Regions from separate parts of the Homo sapiens genome. Here regions 2 and 3 are each linked to region 1. Evidence: promoter capture Hi-C in human tissues and cell types (Jung and others, 2019). All regions are on one chromosome and are shown on one strand. Each heading gives the region's core, a stretch centred on a gene start or on the middle of the fragment in contact. The rest is flanking DNA. Distances are from core to core; before and after follow the strand shown. Region 1 holds the start of TTR (transthyretin). Region 2 has its middle 5.0 kb from the start of SLC25A52. Region 3 has its middle 32 kb from the start of SLC25A52.

Region 1 (4,212 bases), core at 1-2,500:
TGTAAATTCTTTAGCAGATGATGTGAGCCTCTCTCTACCAAGTGAGGGGCAAACGGGAAGATAAAACCAAGTCCTGTGGGAGGGTTCTTTGGCAACTTACCCAGAGGCAAATGGCTCCCAGGTGTCATCAGCAGCCTTTCTGAACACATGCACGGCCACATTGATGGCAGGACTGCCTCGGACAGCATCTAGAACTTTGACCATCAGAGGACACTTGGATTCACCGGTGCCCTGGGTGTAGAGAAGACACGTGAGAAGTTAACAAAATTGATCAGAGTGAAAGGATTTATTCTTTGTGGTATTAGAAATCTGGAGCGAAACAAGAATTACACACTGATCCCATTATCAGGAACGTAAGTGTCGACAATTAATGAGCTTCCCTACTCAGTATAACACAGACGTAATTGTTTCCAAAGCAAGAATGGTTTCTGCCTCCAGACACACTGCTATCAACCAGGGATGTGTATAATGAATTTTAAGGGAGAAAATAGGTCCCCTGAGAACAGTTGCTTTGTTAAAAGTCTCCATTTGAGTGGAATTACTGAAAAGATGTAATGTACCATACATAGGGCCAAACAGGTTTTCCTGAGATCATTTTAGTTGTTGCTATAGTCACTCCCTCTTACCAGTTGTTATAAAATAATGTCAGAACTACATCCAGACCCATTTTATAGTATTAGTTAATTCTTCTAGAGGATTTAAGAATTAGATATCTGACTAGAATATTGTTCACTAAGCCTTTTAAAGATTAATCAATAAATACGTTTTGAATAACTATAGGGCCAGAATATAATCTCCTGCAGTTTGTCCCCCAAATACATTTTATGGAGGGATACTTTTCTGAAAATTCAGTATTAACAGCTTCCTTAATATCATATCTTTATTTCTATCATCTATCTGAGGAAACAGAGGTACCAGATATTACAAACCTAATGCACCAAAGCAATGAGGTAGAATGCTCAGAGTTCAAGTCCCAGCTCAGTAAGCTCAGTGGAACTTCATTCTTTTTGAAGTTTGAATTAATTATATTAAAAATAGATGCTGGGTACCCTTGCCCTAGTAATAAAAGCTGGTTGGCAAAGCTGGAAGGAGTCACTTCTACTTCATTTAGCGTGAATCTTAAATGTAGGAATGGGATGTCACAGAAACACTCACCGTAGGGCCAGCCTCAGACACAAATACCAGTCCAGCAAGGCAGAGGAGGAGCAGACGATGAGAAGCCATCCTGCCAAGAATGAGTGGACTTCTGTGATGGCTGCTCCCAGCCTGGGGCTTTTATACTCACTTCTCCTGAGCTAGGCTGCTTATCCCTGCCAATCTGACTGCAAACCTGCTGATTCTGATTATTGACTTAGTCAACAAAGAGAGAATAAGTAACCCATACAAATATGAACCTTGTCTAGAGAGATTAGAGCATCGGAACATTCGTTCTATGAAATATTCTTAATAGGTCATTTGACCAGTTAGGTCACCAAAACAAAACAACCAAAACAAAACAAAACAATCAAAACAAAACAAAAATAGTCTTCTCCCTGTGTGACTGCGTGCACTAACATTCTTGGGGGTAATTTTTTCCTCCCTCACATATTTCTATGCATGTTTTCCATTTTTATAGATTTTTTGTCTCTCATTTTAGATGCAAGATTTTAGACAGATGCAAGTTGTAATAATGTATTTCATGTTGAATGACATCTAGCTGCACAGGCTTAAATATAGTGCATTAGAAAATGTTTGCACTTGATGGATCCATGGGTCAACAAGGAAAAACCCTTGGCAGTGCTCACATTTTTAAAAGCCTACATTTTAGCCAAACTAAGTCATTTGGAAGCTTTGCTTAGTCAGCAATTTCTCCACAATGTGTGTGTGCATGTGTGTATGTGTGTGTGTGTTCTGCCCAGATAAAGTCCACTTCAATCTAAGAATGGCATCTTCCCTCCCTCCCTTCCTTCCTTCCTTTTTTCCTTCCTTTTTTTTTTTTTTTTTGACAGGGTCTCACTCCAACGCCCTGGCTCGAGTGCAGTGGCACGATCACAGCTCGCTGCAGCCTTGACCTCCCGGGCTCAGGTCATCCTCCCACCTCAGCCTCTTGCCCAGGCTGGTCTCGAACTCCTGAGCTCAAGCAATCCACCCGCTTTGGCCTTCCAAAGTGCTGGGATTACACGTGTGAGCCACTGAGCTGGGCCAGAATGGCATATTTCAACCTGGCATTGATGCCCCTGAAATACAGAGAACCAAATCTTCTTTACTGACTCTTCTGCATTGGGCATGCAGGAACAAGGCTGACAGCTGGTTTTTGACAGAACCAAACTTGCTGGAAGAAAGTAGAGATGACTGTGAGAACCAGAAGCCATGATTGACAGCAGATTCTTTTCCTCCTGGCCGACTTATTAATACAAGTCCAGAAATTATGATGATTTGATGATTCATTACTCACATACAAAGTCTCTGTGTGTATGTGTGTGTGTGTGTGTGTGCGCGCGCACGCGCATGTGTGTGTGTGTCCACTAGCATGCGTGGCTTTGTTCATGGATAAACTAAGGCAGGTTTTTGTCCTTATAAGACAAACATGTAGAAAACATAGAGAAGACAAATATTTTGGACAAATACAAGCCAAGAGCAAGTCCGGTTTGGAGCACTAAGAATTGAGGGAACATTCCCATAACTGATAGAGTCAGATTAGAAAAAATTCAACAAGAAATTGTGAAGCACAGGAGCTTACAGGGAGTAGTGGAAGGGACAGAAAAGCCTTTCAGGAACATGAGAATGTGCAGGAGAGGACTCCGGGAGGTGGGTTGACCCCTCACAGCAATGAGCAAATGTAGTTGAGACCATAACTAGGAATGGAGTCTTAGACCCTTAGAGTTTAACTAGGAAGCAGCAGCAGAAAGACTTTTGCATTTGGAGTTGGATGACCAGAGTCATTCGATCCCAGTTCTGCTGCCCCGTTTCCCGGATGACCTTCTATGAGTTATCTACTATCTCAGATACTCGGCCAACTCGTTTGTAAAATAGAAATGCCTACTTTTCTACTTCAAAGGACTGTTCTAATAACTTTTAATATGAGAGGATGTACAAGCCTTTTGTAAGCTGTAAACCACTATCTTGCTGTAAAAGCATAACTAATAGAATTTGGTTCAACATCTATGCCTCAGGAGAGAATCCTTTCTCAAATAACATCTTTCATATATTGTCATCCAATATCCTCTTGATGATTTCCTATTGTTCAGAACCTGGATAGAGAGCCTTTTCTCTGGCTATGAATCATAAATATTTGGAAGTTCTTTCATAACCGAAGCAAAATCTACTGTGCACGCGTTTCAGCACTGCACCCTGTTGAAACTAAGAATCATCTCTTGTAGACCCTGTGAACTGGCAACGCTGGGCTGCCATCAGCCCATAGATATGTTATATTTGGGCTGCACAGAGTCTCTTTAAACATTTTGTAATAGTTGCCAAAATTAAAAATTGAGACATGCTGCATAAAAATTTGCATTTCTTGCTTCTCTTAAATCAAAAATATTGGCAGCTTTAGGCCAACATTTACACATGACAGTGATCATCAGAATGTCACTCTCAGACATCAAGACTCCCCAGGCCTCCCCGCCAACACTGAGGCTAGGTGATTCTCTAGTGGCATATCATGCGTGAGCTTTTATCTTTTCTTAAACATGGCCTGTTTCTTTCATCTGTGTTTCTGCCCAGCCTTTTGAAAAACTGAGTTTGTGATTGCTGGTCTTCCAACAGCCATGTAAGTAGTATTTTCTTTTTGCCAAATAGACATTCCCACTTCTGTGAATGAATCTTGTTTAGACATAGTTCCTAAGATCCTCAGCATCCCGAACTTCCTTTTCTGGCATATTCCCCTTGGTCAAAGTTCTCTTCAAATGTGATGCTCTGAACAAGACACAGTCCCTGAAGTAGATCAGGCCACAGGATGTCGAGACTGTTGCCTCCCTTGGCAAAGGCACTTTAGTGCAAATGTTGTACCCAGAATCCATCTGTAACTGTAGTAACTGTGACCCTCCCTTCGTCATAACACTACCCACTGTGATCTGTTGGCCACAATAATCTAAAATGACCTATATTATCTGTCATCCTGTGCTTTGATCATTTATGAATTTTAACCCAAATATGGGACCCTGTGTTTGTATCTGATATATCTCATCCTGTTAGTTTCAACCCACCACTTGATCCTTGATATGGTTAGGCTTT
Region 2 (4,839 bases), core at 906-3,405, 170 kb before region 1:
TGCTTCTAACAAATGAAATGTGGTGGAAATGTACATGGATGATTTCCAAGGCAAAGTCATAAAAGACATTGTCACTCCTACCTTCACTCTTGTATCGCTCAGTCTGAGGAAGTCAGCCAGCAGCCTGCAAGACAACCTAAGCAGCCCCTTGAAGAGGCCCTGTGGGGAAGAACTAAGGCCTTCTGCCAAAAGCCACCTCTGACTTGCTGGCTAAGTCAGAGAAAAAGCATACATCTTTCTTTAACATGTGTATACATGAGCCTTCAGAATGAAGACCCAAAGGTACAGGAGACATTGTCCATTTTTATGCTTAGGTTCAACAAAATGTAGACATCCATATGGGAATATGATTGGACACAAAGGGTTTGATCTAAGGTTAATAGACTGAGTGGGGAAAGCCCACAAGGCCTGCCCGTCTAGATTCTTCTTGGCCTCTCTGAGCAGCATTCCTTCCTCCTGGGTGTGGGGCAGGGCCCTCTCTGGAATGGAGATCTTAAGGACCTACAGTCAAAAAACTTAGGTCAGGTAATTTCCCTAGGACCAGTTTTTACATGGAAAGATGGAGGGAAAGTTAGAGTGATATTTTCAGGCTTTATGGCTGACTTTGACCAAAAGGGGCTCTGGTTTCTATTACCCACCTTGGGGAAGAGGAATTCTAGTTTCTATGGCTAGCCTCGGGAGAGGATGGGACTGAGAGACAGGAGGGGAGGAGAAGAACAAAGAAAAATTTTTGCTTCTGAGGTTGCATCTAAGTCCTTTATTTTGGGGTACTATTTTCTGAGCCCCAGCATAGCAATAGACAGCTAGTATGCTAATCCAGGGCTTTATCTGTATCACTGTGCTGTGCTGCCTTTGGTGTGAATCATAAATGCCCCCAATGCTACTGAGAAATTGATGGATGACAGAGGATAAGGAAGAGTGTCTGAGGGAGAGGATGCTATGCTTCCTCCGCAGCACATGTGGTCTCATCCACCTGCTTCCTTTGTATATCACTGTTTTTCTTGGTTCTTTTGATTTATCTCTCCATTCCTTTCTTTTCTTATTCTGTGTCATTAGCGGACACCATCAGTTACCTCCTCATCTGCCACTCCTGTTTCCTCTTAACAGGACACCAATTTTGTCTGGAGTGCCATATGCCCTGGCTGGTCTCAGCTAATGTGGTAATTCTATTCTCCTTGCCAGTGACTGATCTAGGGGTGGGCATGCAACAGAGAAAATGTAAGAGGAGGTCTTCTAGAAATGTCTTCCTCTCATCTAAAAGAAGAACATGTTACAAAGAGAAATCTATTTTCCTTTCAAGTTTGAACAGTGTCATCAGAGGACATTATACTTGATTTTCTGCAGCTGTCACGTTGCATGGGGGAAGGCCCAAGAAATGGCAGGGATGTGGAGTCAGAGCTCTGACATTGCTAAGACTGTGTGACCTCTGGGGTAGCCCTCCTCTTGACTTCTTGGTGAGTGAGACACCAATATTTTTATTGTTATACCACTTTCGCAGGTATTCTATTACTTGCTGTCAAAAACATTCTAATGGATATATTTTTTCTTCCTTTCCTTGCTTTTTCTTCTCCTGTTAGGAATATCAAGAAGGCTCCAAAGTTGTTGTTGTTTTTTTTCTGATTAAGGGCATTTTGGGATAAAATGACTTTTGACTTGTGGTCAAGAAAAAGTGAAAGTAGGCCGGGCGCGGTGGCTCACGCCTGTAATCCCAGCACTTTGGGAGGCCAAGGTGGGCGGATCACCAGGTCAGGAGATTGAGATCATCCTGGCTAACACAGTGAAACCCCGTCTCTACTAAAAATACAAAAAAAAAAAAAAAAATGCCGGGCATGGTGGTGGGCATCTGTAGTCCCAGCTACTCGGGAGGCTGAGGCAGGAGAATGGCATGAAGCCGGGAGGCAGAGTTTGCAGTGAGCCGAGATCATGCCACTGCACTCCAGCCTGGGTGACAGAGCAAGACTCTGTCTCAAAAAAAAAAAAAAAAATAAGAAAAAACAAAAAGTGAAAGTACATTGTTATCTTGCACAGTAAGAAATACAGAGGCGTGTTATTATAGGTGTTGGATTTCCTATAGTCCTGCTTTACAAAATTGAGGTTAAGTAACTTGCCCAAGGTCACACAGTTGGTCAGTGTGGATTTGAATCCAGGGGTCAAATTCCAGACTCTTTGATGCTAACCTCTATACATTACTGCCTTTTGTCTGAGCTCACTTAGCTTGGATGGGCTGATGCTTTTTCTTTAGATGTGGGCTTGATATTCAGGTATGGGCAATTGATATATTTCATTCCTCTGGCCATATGGACTGGTTCATTGTTGGACATGTGACTCCAGTTAGGTCAATGAGTTTTCACCCTAAGCCTTTTCTGGAACTATATGTAAAGTGAATCTATATCAAATAACATTGCCCAACTAACAGTTTGTACACATGGAGCTGTTTCCAACCATCACTGTACCACAGAAAGAGCCAATCCGCAAAAATATAATCAAAAGAGACAAATGGCTCGTGCTGACGTTATATGACCCTGCATGCAGCCTAGCCCAATCCCTACTGACTTTTCAGTTATGGGAGACAACGCATTCCTTCTTTTTGCTCAAGCCAGTTTGAGTGGCATTTTTGTCACTGAAAGACTTCCTAGGGGCTGAACTGTGTCTCCTTAATTCATATGTTGAAGTCTTAACAGTACCTACTACAGTAGCTCAAAATGCGACTGTATTTCCATAGGATCTTTAAAGAGATAAAGTTAAAACAAGCTCATCAGGGTAGGCCCTAATCCACTATAACTGGTGTCCTTATAAAAGGAGATTAGGACACCGACACACACAGAATGGGAGTTGGCCATGTGAGGATGAAGCAATGAGGTGGCCATCTGCAAGCAAAGGAGTGAGGCCCTGGGAGAAACCCACCCTGCCAACACGGTTGTCTTGGACTTCCAGCCTCCAGAATTGTGAGGAAATCAGTCTCTTTTGTTTAAGCCACCCAGTCTATGGTACTTTGTTATGACAGCCTGAACAAATTAATACAAGACTCTGAACACTTTCTAAATTCGTATCTGGAGGTGAGAGAGTACATGTTGCAGATTGTCAAATAGAGACGTGGCTCAGTCAAGATGGGATAGGGGCAGTGAGGACCTCTCGATTTTGGGCAGGAAGCTGGCAATTTTGTTGTGCAGTAATAGCAAGGCAGTGGTGAAACTATTCTATTTTCTCTTGGTGCTCTGACCATGAGCCTACTGAAGTTGAAAGTTAAAGAGAGATGGTAGAAAAATGTCAGGCTGATGGAATAAGATGAATTTATTTTGTAGCCTTCGGTTAGGTCCTACCAGAAAAACAAGTTTTGTTAGAAATGGGCAATCTGAAAGCAGCAAGGGAAGAAAAGACAGCTTTGCTACAGGAGGCCCTTTCTTCCTACAGCCATCAACTTAGAAACTTAGATGTCCCTGGCTGGGCGTGGTGCCTCAAACCTGTAATCCCAGCACTTTGGGAGGCTGAGGCTGGGGGATTACCTGAGGCCAGGTCAGTGTGGCCAGCATGGTGAAACCCCATCTCTACTAAAAACACAGAAATTAGCCAAGTGTCTTGGCATGTGCCTGTAGTCCCAGCTACTTGGGAGGCTGAGGCAGGAGAATCGCTTGAACCTGGGAGGTGGAGGTTGCAGTGAGCCAAGATGGTGCCACTGCATTCTAGCCTGAGCAACAGAATGAAACTCTGTCTCAAAAAAATTAAATAAATAAAATAATAGAAAGTTAGATTAGACGTCTCTGAGCTTCGCTGAATTGAAAAGTGGGGTTCTCTGTCATCAACTAATATTACTTCTCACAAAGCCTAGGGTGTGGAAAACATATCAGAAGATAAGATAGGAGTCAGAGAGAAGCTTCATTCCTGTTCTTTTAGGCTTCTCCCAAACATCTTGCAGACATTTAGCAGCCTGAGAAGGGTGACAATGGTCTCCATTGTAAAGAGTCACCCATCAGACATAACCAAGGGGCAAGGGCCAAGTTATCTGTGCTTTGAGGGTGCTGGTTCTGCCCTGGGGCAGCCAGCATGGACAACACTAGGTTGAGGACTAGGTGGGATAGCAGAGCATTAGGGCCTGTGCTGAGACAAAAATCCCGCAATAAAGGGTCTGGAATCTAGGACTGTGACCAAACATATTTGACTTGGGCCATCGGTCAGTAGAGTTGCCTAATTTTTTTTTTTTCTCTTTTTTGAGATGGAGTTTCGCTCTTGTTGCCCAGGCTGGAGTGCAATGGTGTGATCTCAGCTCACTGCAACGTCCGCCTCCTGGGTTCAAGTGAATCTCTTGCTTCAGCCTCCCAAGTTGCTGGGATTACAGGTGTGCACCACCATACCCGTCTAATTTTGTATTTTCAGTAGAGACAGGGTTTCACCATGTTGGCCAGGCTGGTCTTGAACTCCTGACCTCAGGTGATCCCCCACCCCAGCCACCTAAAGTGCTGGGATTACAGGTGTGAGCCACCGCGCCTGCCTGAGTTGCCTGATTTCAAACTGTATAGTTACATTGCCCAAGAAACTGCAAGCTTGGACCAAAAAAAGGTGGCAATGGCTCAACTTCCAAAGCAATTTTCCAGCTCCTCTCATCTGCACCAATGGCAGTGGGCTGTGTGGCTTCAGAGGGGAACACCTCCTAATACCTTTCTAGGTCCCAGTGGTTTGGGTGGTGGGCGGGATGGGAGGTTTACCTCCTTCTGCCCCATTTACCTGACAAGTGCAGGATGAGGCAAGTGACTCAGGTTTGATTAGTATCATTTTCCATCCCCCTGATCCCAGTGATTGGTTCAGACCAACTAACTGCAATGAGACTCAATCCTAGGGTTGTTT
Region 3 (4,289 bases), core at 95-2,594, 200 kb before region 1:
GTCCACCCTGCTTGCATAAATTCCTGTTCCCCTTCCCCCTCCCTCAAAGTGTCTGTTTCTGGCTTCTGACTGAAGGCTGTGCTTCCCAGCCTGTCAGAATTGCCACCATACAGGCTGCAAGTCTTGCTGAGAAATTAAGCTCTCCTTTCCAAATTTATGAACCTCCTTATTCTTCAGTTACAGGTTACACAGAGGAGTTTGAGAACTGCCTGACTCATAGAATCACAGATTCTATCCACAGGAAGATTCCTCTAGCTCAATGGGAAGGAACAAAGCTTTGTTCAAAGCTCATCCCTGTGACATAAGAGGACATAGAAATCAGGATTTTTTTTTTATGACTTTGTGTTCTCTCTGGGCATTACCTTCTTTCTGATAGCACATCACATATATCTCACCAGGTGAATCATATGAATTCTGGTTCATACAACCTCATGTTCCAAAAATTTTAAGTGGCTTGGGACTTGGCCGGTAGTGAGGATTTTGAATGGATTAGAAAGTAGTAAAACCTAACAGATGGACGAGGCGTGGTGGCTCACGCCTGTAATCCCAGCATTTTGGGAGGCTGAGGTGGGTGGATCACAAGGACAGGAGATGGAGACCATCCTGGCCAACATGGTGAAATCCCATCTCTACTAAAATACAAAAAATTAGCCAGGCGTGGTGGCACGCACCTGTACTCCTGGCTACTTGGGAGACCGAGGCAGGAGAAATGCTTGAATCCGGGAGCTGGAGGTTGCAGTGAGCCAAGATCATGCCACTGCACTCTAGCCTGGGCAACAGAGTGAGACTCCATCTCAAAAACAAACAAACAAAAAAAACCCCCAAAAATAAAAAATAAAAATTAGCTGGATGTGGTGGTGGGCACCTGTAGTCCCAGCTACCCGGGAGGCTGAGGCAGGAGAATCTCTTGAACCCAGGAGGCGGAGGCTGCAGTGAGCCGAGATCACGCCATTGCACTCCAGCCTGGGAAACAAGTGAAAAGCTGGTCTCAAACAACAAAAACAAAAACAAAAAAACCCCAGATGTAGCAGAAGTGTTCTAAAGCAATTAGCTGAGATATCACAAGCTACAGAAGGAAGGTCATTATGCAAATGCAGGGCCATTAAATGCCAGTCTTTTTAGCCTAATGTCAGAACCTGCCTTATACCCAAAGGATAGGGGGATAGTTGCATGTTTTCTTTCAGCACAATCCACCTCATGCTGTCTGATCTGTCCCCATTAAACCAGGCTAACGGGTTTTTCTTAACAACAAAGACCAGCAGATGGTTTCTGATGTCAATGATGTTCATCTCGTATTCTGGTTTGGTTTGCTTTCACTACCTCCCTTCTCTGCTTTGAAGGTTATTTTTTCCTCAGTTTCAGGGTCAAGGAGACTCATAAAAATATGCAAGGCAAATAATGTTTTTAAAATGTAGCCCATTTTCACCTTTTTTATGTCTCATTGGCTGTAATGTGTGTTTGTAGAGACAAAGTGTATCCATTTTGCTTCACCAGCTAACAATACAAAGAATGATAAATGGCTGTTATTCCTCCTCCTCCTCCTCCTCTTCCTCCTCTTCCTCCTCCTCCTCTTCCTCCTCCTCCACTTCCTCCTCCTCTCTTCCTCCTCTTCCTCCTCCTCTCTTCCTCCTCCTCCTCTTCCTCCTCCTCCTTCTCACAGTCTTCTCTTCTGAGAACCTGGCCCCAGTAGTGTTACCTTGCCTGAGGACTCCTTGCTGAAGGAGGAAAGGAGTAGGTACTGTAATTCTTTGTCTAGTTATTACCCAAATGAAAAATTCCAAGATAAATAGTGCTTGCATCTCAAAGGGTGAAAGGATAGAACAATGGCCTTGTGCTGTTTCTATATACTCTCTGTAACAACCCAGGCATAGGATGGCACCAAATCAGGAGGAATATAAAGGGAAGGTGTTCAAGGCAAGTAGGAAAGTGCAATGGCATGAGGAGGCTTGACAAGAAAGGGCAGACAAAGCTGCGGAGACAAGCTTCTGGTTTGGATCAGCAATCCTAGAGGGGAAATGTCTTTGAATTGGAAGCTGAAGATCTGGGTGCTAGATCAGTTCTATAGTTCTACTAGTACTAAAATCTTGCCTCAGTTTCCCTCAGCAATATAACACCACTATCTTTCCTCAGCATATAAGAGACATATGAAGCCCTTTGTAAACTGTAAAGCAGAATCTAAATAAATATGAAGTCTCAAGAGCCATACACTAGAGATAGCCCAGGTGGGAGCTACCTGTGGAATTAGGAAGCAGCTGTCCTCTGCTCTCTTTTTGCTTTTCCAACCTGCATTCCTTCTTTTCCATAAACCACAGCTTCCCAGAAAAGTACTCTCTGGTGACTGAGTTTCTCAGATTCAGTGTTTCTTCTTCCCAGGCTCTGGGTTTCTTCTTCCTGGGCTCTGATGAATGGCTTCTCATTATCCAATACCCATCTATTACCGTCACATAGACAACATCCTCTGCTCACCTATTCTGTCTCCGATGTGTCCATAGCAGTGATAAAGCTAGTCTCCTTTTGTGTCCAATCAAGCATCAGTTGCCCTTATGTGTTATTCCTGTTTATGGCCTGGGAGAAAGTATAACCTCTAAAGTAACCTTTGAACAGGGTGAATCACATCTGTTATGTTGTAATTTATTGGTTTAACACTCAGGAGTCAATATTGTATCTCCTTAAAATTTATCTGGGCACATTTCACAGTCACATCCATATACTTGGCATCTTTAGAAGGTGGAAGTGTCAAGAAAAGGGAGGTTTTAAGACTGAGGGTAGTGTTGGCTTTTGCTATTGCAGTGTCTGAGCCGTGAAGCCACATCACATGGTGAGTGTGAGGGTTCCTCCCCTGCGGGGAATACCTGTTTCTACTGCCAGTCATCCTGAGGTAGGACGGAGTGGGAGAGGACATCCCCTCGGGTGCAATTGGGTCTGAACTTAATTTGTGGGGATGCCTAGAGGTGCCTGGGGAGTCAGGCCTACTCTTATTATGAGGAGGTCTATTGCAAGCTCTCCAGGAACTCTTGAGGTTATGGTCAGTAGCAGTTATAAGATAGTTTCCACATCATTTTCTGTCTTCCTACTTTACTAAAAATTAATAAAAGCCACTGTCTGGTCTGAACTGTCCTCCGGGGAATTAGTGGCAACAGGGTCCCCACACTGAGGGCAGAGTGGAAGCATTAGAGTGGGCATCATGAGGGACAGCTGTCCCCACCAGGTGGCTATTTTACAAAGATGGTCAGTGTTGAGGGTTAAGAAGCAACAGGGATCTGTGGCATAGTTCCCTTGAGGCAAGACCTAGAGAAACTCCCACAAATAACTGGCAAGGCGCTTTGAAGGAAGTGGACCAGTGGGTGTTAGAGTCATAATAAGTTGAATAAGCAAAGAGGATGTAAACCTATTTTGTGGTCACAGGCCCATGTCACTGGCAGCATTGAGTTACAGCAATGTCTTTCAATACTCTCCACTTCTCTTTCTTTTAAAACCATGCTCACCAAGTGACCTTCAGATAATAATTTAGCTTCCCAAATATTTGCCAACAGGGAGAGAATGCACTGGCATCGACGGAGTGCGCTCCAGTTCTCCTGGAGGCTTTATTTTGCTATGTTAATCAAATTATTCTTCTGGTCTACACAGCAAATTTTTATGAGTTTGGTAAATATGAGTCAGTTCTGGAATGATTATCTATCATGTAAACAAACAAAATTAGATTTTAGTCCTGCAAAGACGAAGGTGAGATCCTGGGCCATGCCCTCTGTGTTAGTCTCCTAGGGCTGCCATTACAAAATACTGCAGACTGGATGGCTTCAAAGAAGCTTATTTTCTCTCAGTGATGAAGGCTGCAAGTCCAAGATCAAAGCTCAGGCCCAGTTAGATTCTCCTGAGGCCTTTCTCCTTGCTTCGCAGGTGGCTGCTTTCGCACTGTGTCCTCACATGGTCTTTCGTCTGTGAGTGTGCACCCCTGGGGCTTCCTCCTCTTACAAGGACACTAGTCGTGGGGGTGAAAGGATAGAACAGTGGTGGTGTGCGGTTTCTATATACTCCTGTAGCAACCCAGGCACAGCACCACGAAGGATGGCACCAAATCAGGAGGAATAGAAAGGGAAGGCTTTATATGCAACTATCCTTTGGGTCTAAGGCAGGTTGTGACATTAGGCTAAAAAGACTGCCATTTAATGGCAGTATGAGCAAAATGAGGTAATGACTTCATTTAACCTTAATTACCTCTTTGGAGTCCTTATCTCCAAATACAGTCACATTAGGGATTAGGGATTCAACATATGACGGGTTGGGGGAGG

The links. Contacts are between HindIII fragments. The study calls those that stand out against the background at their distance.
Region 2: a fragment that was not itself captured here is called in contact with the fragment with the promoter of TTR in region 1 in 4 of the 25 tissues and cell types used here (IMR-90 fibroblasts, aorta, lymphoblastoid cells and 1 more).
Region 3: a contact is called between a fragment that was not itself captured here and the fragment with the promoter of TTR in region 1, in 4 of the 25 tissues and cell types used here (dorsolateral prefrontal cortex, heart left ventricle, small bowel and 1 more).

The regions. Positions count from the first base shown.
Region 1 is chr18:31,588,915-31,593,126 of GRCh38, reverse strand. It overlaps TTR (transthyretin), which reads right to left and starts at 1,250. Exons shown (of 4, transcript NM_000371.4): 1 at 1,156-1,250; 2 at 101-231. The coding sequence starts at 1,224. The HindIII fragment of the contact is 7,126 bases long and covers 1-3,311 here.
Region 2 is chr18:31,763,435-31,768,273 of GRCh38, reverse strand. No RefSeq gene overlaps it. Among named protein-coding and RNA genes, the nearest start is that of SLC25A52, 5.0 kb to the right of the region's middle. The HindIII fragment of the contact is 6,923 bases long and covers 1-4,839 here.
Region 3 is chr18:31,791,025-31,795,313 of GRCh38, reverse strand. No RefSeq gene overlaps it. Among named protein-coding and RNA genes, the nearest start is that of SLC25A52, 32 kb to the right of the region's middle. RefSeq lists an enhancer at 2,684-2,743. The HindIII fragment of the contact is 3,101 bases long and covers 1-2,894 here.